Linked DNA regions of Homo sapiens: region 1 is linked to region 2. Evidence: promoter capture Hi-C in 16 types of primary human blood cells and fetal thymus (Javierre and others, 2016). All regions are on one chromosome and are shown on one strand. The core of a region is centred on a gene start or on the middle of the fragment in contact, and the rest is flanking DNA. Distances in the headings are between cores, read along the strand shown. Region 1 overlaps LINC02446 (long intergenic non-protein coding RNA 2446). Region 2 holds the start of KLRC1 (killer cell lectin like receptor C1).

Evidence for each region. The method cuts DNA at HindIII sites, captures the fragments that hold promoters and counts their contacts. A CHiCAGO score of 5 or more calls a contact.
Region 1: a contact is called between a fragment that was not itself captured here and the fragment with the promoter of KLRC1 in region 2, in 1 of 17 cell types (total CD8 T cells). The highest score is 5.8, in total CD8 T cells.

Annotation. Positions count from the first base shown.
Region 1 is chr12:10,560,578-10,564,539 of GRCh38, reverse strand. All of the region lies in intron 1 of LINC02446 (long intergenic non-protein coding RNA 2446), which reads right to left. Among named protein-coding and RNA genes, the nearest start is that of LINC02446, 9.2 kb to the right of the region's middle. The HindIII fragment of the contact is 2,885 bases long and covers 73-2,957 here.
Region 2 is chr12:10,451,190-10,455,392 of GRCh38, reverse strand. It overlaps KLRC1 (killer cell lectin like receptor C1), which reads left to right and starts at 2,016. Exons shown (of 7, transcript NM_002259.5): 1 at 2,016-2,195. The HindIII fragment of the contact is 4,540 bases long and covers 1-4,203 here.

The sequences.
Region 1 (3,962 bases), core at 266-2,765, 110 kb before region 2:
TGCACGTTCTGCACATGTATCCCAGAACTTAAAGTATAATTCAAAAATAATAATAATAATGAAAAGGAAGCTTACTACAAAACTTTCATTTCTCTTTTCCTAGGATATAGAATTTCTAAGTGGCCCTTAAATAATACAATAAAGCATACATAATTTGTAATAATCCTAACATAAAATATCAGTATATAATAGAGATAGGATAATACATAATGAAATGTTGGTTGAGACTTGAAACGTATCATTTATGATGGAGATATTAGGTTATAAAAATCCAAAAACATGTGAAAGATGAGAATTTGAAATGTCTTATTTTTATAACAAAAGAAGTTTAACTCTAAAATAGGAGATGACTTCATGGCCTGCAGCTGGAGTTAATTATCGTGGCAAAAACAAACGGGTCCCAAACTGACTAAAAATCAGTTGCTTGACCAGCCATTTACTGAAATATTTTGCTTATTGGTCTAGGGAGATCACTACAAGCCCAGAAAGATGTAAAAGGATGCATTAATACAACTAATGGAAGTTATCAAGTGGAATTATAGCCTTAGAGAAGAATAAAAATTATAGGAATAACAAAAGAAATGAAGTTTAAAAACTATTGTTATATTTTAGGATAGGTTTAAGAGTAAGCAATAGGTTTTGTAATAATTTTCTTTGGGTATATTTGCTACTTAAGGTGTTTGAGGTGCTCAAAAGACTTAGCTTAACTAAATCTGTAATTGTAGTTTAAATTTGTATAGGACTTAAGTAATTTTGTATAGGACTTGAGTAATTATGTTGAAATCACTATTCAAATGTTTGAATAGCTTTCTTTCTTTTTTTTATTTTTTTAAGACAGGGTTTCTTGCTCTGTCACCCAGGCTGGAGTGCAATGGGCGATCTTGGTTCACTGCAGCCTCCACCTCCCGACTTCAAGTGATTCTCCTGCCTCAGTCTCCTGAGTAGCTGGGATTACAGGCATGGGCCACCATGCCTGGCTAATTTCTGTATTTTTAGTAGAGATGGGGTTTCACCATGTTGGCTAGGCTGATCTTTGAACTCCTGTCCTCAAGTGATCCGTCCACCTCAGCCTCCCAAAATGCTGGGATTACAGGCATGAGCCACCAGGCCAGGCTCAAATTCTTTTTATTAGTTAATTAGTTAACTATTTGTGTGTAACAAATTACTAAATTATCCCACAACTTATGCTTTTTTTGGGTCAGGAATCCAGCCATGGGTGACTCTGACTTAGAGTTTCTCACAAGGATGCCTTTGGGGTGTGGGTGAGGGCTACAGTCATCTGAAGGCTCAGTTGGGGCAGACTCATATGCAGCCTCATGCACATGCTGTTGGCTGGTGTGAGGTCCTCACTCACTGTTAACAGGAGAAATGTCAATGCCTTGCCTCATAGACCTCTCCATAGAGCTACTCACTTCATGGCAGTTTGTTATTCTGTTTTCTGCTGGGGACGTGTATGTGGGAGAGGGGAGTGGGAGAGAAAGAGGGAGAGAAAGAGAAACAGAGATGCCAACTTGAGCACACACTCTGGGAAGAAGATTATACAATGGCATGAATACCAAGAAGTGGAATGATGACTGGAGTTATTTTAGAGAAAGTCAACCACAATTACATATCATACATTTGATAAAAATGATTCAAATGACAAATATTAGTAAATATTAGTCACCACTTGTGAAAGCCTTTGGTAAAATTTATAGTGGTAAATTTGCATTATGTATCCCCATTAAACTACACATTCCTGGAAATCATGCATGGAGACTTCATCTTTTTCATCAGCAGGGAATAGTACTACCATGTGGTAGGTACTCCAAAAACTCAGGTTGAAGAGATGAATGAATGAGCATTGTTTGAGTTTGTAATCTTCATTTTACATGGCTCCTGATAATTTTTAGAAATCCAAACAGCAAGAATGCTTTCTGACAACGTATAAGACTTGTGCTATTTGCCATCACCTTATAAATTTAATTTTGCTCATTACAGTTTTCAAAAGGTTTTTCACTTCTGATTCTGTAATTTTGTACTAGGCCACCAGATGGCATCACCACATAAACCAAGCTCTAAAATCAAGGCTTATTTGAAAATTAGTCTTGCTGGTCAGAATGAAGTAATAACTATATTCTCATAAACTGCTGTAGCAAATGTTAGTAGATAACTACTGCACACAAATTTAGCAAAATATATTGATAACCTTAAAAAATGGTAGTACTTTTTGAGCCAATGAGTCTACTAGAAATCTATCTTCAGAAAATAATGTGGACAAAATGGTACACACTCAAGATTTTACCTTAGCATTATTGGAATTGTCAAATACCAGGTAAAATCTTGGGTCCAACAATAATGAAAGGGTTAGTATATATGATACAATCATACAATTAAAAAACATACACACTTTCAAATGACTTATGAAGTATTCAATGACATGAGAAATGCTTCTGGCATAATGCTAATTTATGAATTGGGTTGTAAACTAATGTGTGATTCCCAGTATGTTGCATAGAAATTATAGAAAGGAAACATATTAATGTAATTTTATAAGGAAGTGTTTTTCTCTCTTCATATTTCTCCTTGTTACTCCAATTTTTAACAATGACTCCTTGGAACATCATATGTTAATAAGAAAAAATCAAGTTAACAATAACATAACATTAGTTTTTTAGGGCTGGGCATGGTGGCTCACTCCTGTAATCCCAGCCCTTTGGGAGGCTGAGGCAGGTGGATCACCTGATATCAGGAGTTTGAGACTAGCCTGGCCAACATGATGAAACCCCATCTCTACCAAAAAATACTAAAGTTAGCTGTGTGTGGTGGCTCACACCTGTAGTCCCAGCTTACTCAGGAGGCTGAGGCAGCAGAATCCCTTCAATTTGGGAGGCTGAGATTGCAGTGAGCTAAGAAGGCACCATTGCACTCCAGCCTGGGCCACAGAGCAAGACTCTGTGTCAAATAAATTAAAAGCTTTTTAGTACTTATAATTTAAAATTGTTTGTCTTCTACTATGTTAAACCATAAAAATATGCATTCATTCAGCCAGGCATGGTGGTTCATGCCTATAATCTCAGCACTTTGAGAGGCCAATGTGGGAAGATTGTTTGAGGCTAGGAGTTTGAGTCCAGCCTGGGCAACAAAGCAAGACCCTGTCTCTACAAAAAGGGAAAAATTTTAAAAATTAGCTGGGCATGGTGGCACATGCCCATAGTTCTTGCTACTCAGGGAGCCGAGATGGGAGGATTGCCTGAGCCCGAGAGACAATTCAAAGTAGAGGCTGCAGTGATCTATGATCAGGCCACTACACTGCGCCCTGGGCAACAGAGTGAAACCCTGTCCCAAACAAAAAACAAAAATCAAAGAAAAAGCATTCATTCAGCAATTATTTATTAGTGGTTTTTATAAATTGCACTGTATGTTGATGGTTCAAAAGTGAGTAACACAATTTCTGCCTTCCCTGAATGTATGATCAACTTGGATTGAAAGCTATATAAACAGATATTTTGTAAAATAACAAGTACAATGCTAAAGACTAATGATGGTACAATAAACTTTCTTCATCCCATTTAATAGTTGCAACTCTTCCAATTTGAATTATTCTACAATATTTGGTTTATGTGACATACTGAACTTTGTACATATTTTTCATTGTATAATGATTTCCAACAGCAAATATGGCACATGAGTAAAAAATATTTGCATTGGTTACGGGTATTTCTCTGTTGGAAAAGATATTCTCTACCTGTGAGAAAAGGATTATTGGTGCTGTTATTAAGGTAGATTATGGTAGGAAATACTGTTAATAAAATATCTTGGTGGTTTGATTTTTCCAACATTTGAACTGTGAGGCTGAGATGATTTTTAATAATATGGGTTTCCACAAGATTCCCCCTCTTCTCTAGAACTCAGCATTTTAACACAGCAGAATTCATATGTGAAGAGGGAGAACATGTATAGGCAACTCTTTTTGGAGAGGA
Region 2 (4,203 bases), core at 767-3,266:
AGAGGGCCAAACTGGCTCTAGAATCATACTGTATAGGGCTGGGGAGGGGATGAGGGTCCACTTCAAGGTCTGTAAATGGTGGGTCTATTATTAGGTGTGTAGTTGGGGAAGAGTTTATCTAGTTTGCTGGGAAGGCTGCTCATGGGTCTCTGAGTGGGTTCCTCAACCTGTGGCACAGAGGAGTTAGTGCTAAGTCACAAGGTTTCCTCGGGGTCTATAGCTGAAACCAGTGTCTTCATGTCTGTCTCTGGGGTCATGGTTGAGTGTGTTTTCTGGCAGGTCTGTGGGCAGGCAGATTTGCCTCAGACTGTAGTTGAGTTGGGCTGGAGCTGGATCCAGAATTGTTTCAAGATCTGAAATAAAACTAAGGTCTGTGCCTGCAGGGGCACTAATGATGTCTCTCTCCAGGTCCCTGTATGGGCAAACTGCTCTCTAGCATAGCTGAGAAGTGTCGAAGCCCCTTTTCTGTCCAATTAAAGGATCTGCTGTGAAACCTAGGTCAATGGTCTCCTAGTTGGGACATGGATGCACATGTCCTCCCTCTGTATCCCTGAGCTGGCAAGACTGCTCACAGTCCACAGCTGAGAAGGGTGAAGGTCAAGATTCAAGGCTGTTTCAGAAACTACCGTGGAACTGAAGTCAGCAAGCCTGTACTGCTGACAAAGATGATTGAGTCTCACAGCAATTTCCTGTGATTAACTCAGGTCACAGTTGAGAGGAGTTTGAGTGGAGATTCAGGGCCATTTTAGTATCTTCTGTAGGACAGAGGTCAGCAAGCATGCCCCAGAGGTACAGATGTATATGTCTCCCAGGAAGTCTCTGTGGGTGAAGGACTGATCTCAAGTTGTGGCTGACACTAGTTAAAGCCAAGTTAGAGGGCTGTTTCAGGGTCTACATTGAGACTACAGTTGATATGCCTACCTCCTGAGACACTAGTGTGTGAGTCTCCTCCTGGGCCCCTGGGCAAATGGTTTTGGCAGCATGACCAAGGCCTAAATGGGGCTGAAGGCAAGCACAGGAGGATGGGTCCCTTTTCAGGTCTGGAGATGGAATCACTGTTGGTAAGTCTGCCACTTGGATGCAAATCTATTCCCTAAAACAACCTTCCTAGGTCTTGGGTTCCACTGGCATTTTACAAACTCCTACTTGAATTCCAAACTCCCTCAAAGGAACTTTTGTCTGTGGATGGCTGAAAAATTATTGTTGCTGTGGGGGCATATGTGTGGGGGACCACCTATTCTGCCAATTTACTGACTTTCCTCCTAGTAAGATTTTAAAATTACTTTTTCCCCATACATAGTTTGACTTCAGTTTTTGTCATTTACAACTAAATATTTCTATGAAAGTCGACATAATTTGTTATGGCGGAGGATGAATAAATGAAGAATGTAATGAATAGCTATTTAATATTTCAATTTCTGGTATGCTAATATATTTCAAAATTGATTAATATTTTACCTATCCAAGATATTTTTATCAAGGGTAATCTGAAGATTAAATAATCTATTTTTAAAAATTAAGTGCAAAAATTTAAGAACTAAGAGAAGTTAATAATATAACTTTGGCAATGATGCTTTTTGTGCCAGCTACAATCAATTGAGTAATTACTGCAGTAATTTTTCAGAATAATTAAGGAAAAAATCAGTAGATATCAGTTGATAATATTACTATGAGTTTTAGAATGTTTTCTATTATAATGGAAGTGACATAATAAAATAATATAAAGAAAAGAAGTATGCAATGTTAAGATTTAGCAACCTAGTCTAAAAGGCACTCTTAACAAGGTGAGGGTTGACAATGTTCGTGATCAAGACAGAAAAAAAAAAAATTCTCATAGGCACTTGAAAAATGAACCAACTAAATGACACACTTTCAAAGTCAACCTTGTACTTTTAATAGACCAAGTATCCTATATTTTGGAGGTGTGTGATGAGATAAAACTGATTTCACAATAGCCCATGTGTAGAATTTCCTGTTCAAACCTTAGTAACACGTTGATGAGAAATCTACTTTTTCCACTCTTGACTCACTCTGAGCCTTCACAGGGCAGTCTGCGAAGATTGCAGGCATTGTTTGTTCTTGTCTTGGATTTATGCCTTTAAATTTCACCTTTTATTACACAGCTATAGCAGGCCTTTTTATGAGACTAACCTGGCCTCTCCACTAAAGGATGTGTGACTTTCTGGGGACAGAAGGTATGTATTGCTACTCTCCAACTCTCTACTAGCCTACCTCATTTAGTGGGTGATTTCAAGTGCTCAATATGATACAAAGGAGGTATAATTAATATACAATAAAATCAAAGTAGAATATTGCTGTCTTCATTTGAATAACTCAGGGTAAAAACCTAAAATATGAAATATGTTGAAGGATTTCTTAAAGTTTTCAAATTATTGTTTGTGGAAATCTAGTGGGTTTGTTGATCAATATCGTTTAAGGGAAAGCTATTAACATCACAATAATGAACAATTAATTTTGTATTTTGTAATCAGTACATCATGTATCTTTGAATAATAATTTATATTTAGCTTAGCCATTAAAGATTATTAAAATAAATCAATCAATTGATGAAAGCCAAATACAATTCCTCAGACACGTAGATTAGAGAAAAGCAGTTTTTATTTTTAATAAAAATCAGAATGAGGTAGATTACATAAAATGCTAAAGGTATTACAAAGCAATAAAAATACTTTTTAAAAATTGATCAAAATATTGCAAAAAAAGATGTAGCGCATGGACATAGGAGACTTATCTGAAGATTTATTTTCCATGCTTTAACTGACATGAATCAGAAACAGTAACATAACAATTGTGACTAAAATAATAATTAAAGTAGCTAATGCTTATTGAGAACTTTAAGTGCCAGGTTGAGTGGTAAATGTTTTACATGCAACGTTTTATATGTTCTTATGCCCATTTTAGATTAACAAACTGGGTTATTAAAAATAGAATAACTTTTTAAAGGTCGCACATTATAAGTGTCAAAGCTAGAATTAATTCTAGATCTCACTGACTCCAGAGCCCATTGACTAAATGATTTAATTACATTATCTGAAATTTTACAAGTACTTATACAACTAAAGTGGCCTTTACTCACTTTGACAACCATAAAATCATTCTATAAGTTTAAATGAAATGTGCTTTAACATGAATTACCTATACTTTTATTTATCATTTTTTGGTTCATAATTTAGCCAGGAAATAAATTACCAATTACTAATTAAATTACCAATACTTCTGTAAGTATTAACAATTTATGTAGTGTTCCTAATACTATTTAGGTTATGCATAAGTTAACTGTGTCACATAGCATTTTCTGTCATATACAAATATTTAATTTTTTATAATTTTTAATAAATAATTTTTAATAATTTCTTAGAACATTTCAGCCATTAAGAAAAGACCATTTAATTACCTCTATTGATTTTCATTAATGTGTATAAATTACTAATTAAAAGTAATGTAGTGCAAGAAATTTTTATATATATATATGTCAACTTTACTATTACTCATGTGCAGACCACATAGTCTTAACCATTACTGGATTTCAAAATTAACATAAAAATGAGTGCAGAAGTTTTTCTAATACAACATTTTAATTTTTAACACAGGTAAAACATCAGACTTTAAGAAATATATTTTTATTCCTGAACTTCTTTATTCCTTAGTAATTTATTGCTTCTCATTGCCCCAGCAATAATATTTTGTCAAATGCAGAAAATTTATCTTTTTTTTTTGAGTCGGAGTCTCACTCTGTCGCCCAGGCTGGAGTGCAGTGGCACAATCTCCGCTCACTGCAACCTCTGCCGCCCATGTTCAAGAGATTCTCCTGCCTCAGCCTCCCGAGTAGCTAGGACTACAGGCGCCTGACATCATGCCCGACTACTTTTTGTATTTTTAGTAGAGACGGAGTTTCACCGTGTTAGCCAGGATGGTCTCGATCTCCTGACCTCGTGATCGGCATGCCTCGGCCTCCCAAAGTGCTGGGATTACAGGCGTGAGCCACCGCGCCCGGCCTAAAAATCTTTTTTTAAAACAAATATTCATAAGAAACGTGTTTAGGCTTGAAGAAAATCAGAGAAAGAACTTTAGATTATTTAATGCAAAATGAGCTCCAATACTCGTTCTCCACCTCACCCTTTTAATTGCACTAGGGAATCCTGTATATAAACCATTTATTAACTTCTTAACTACTGTTATTAT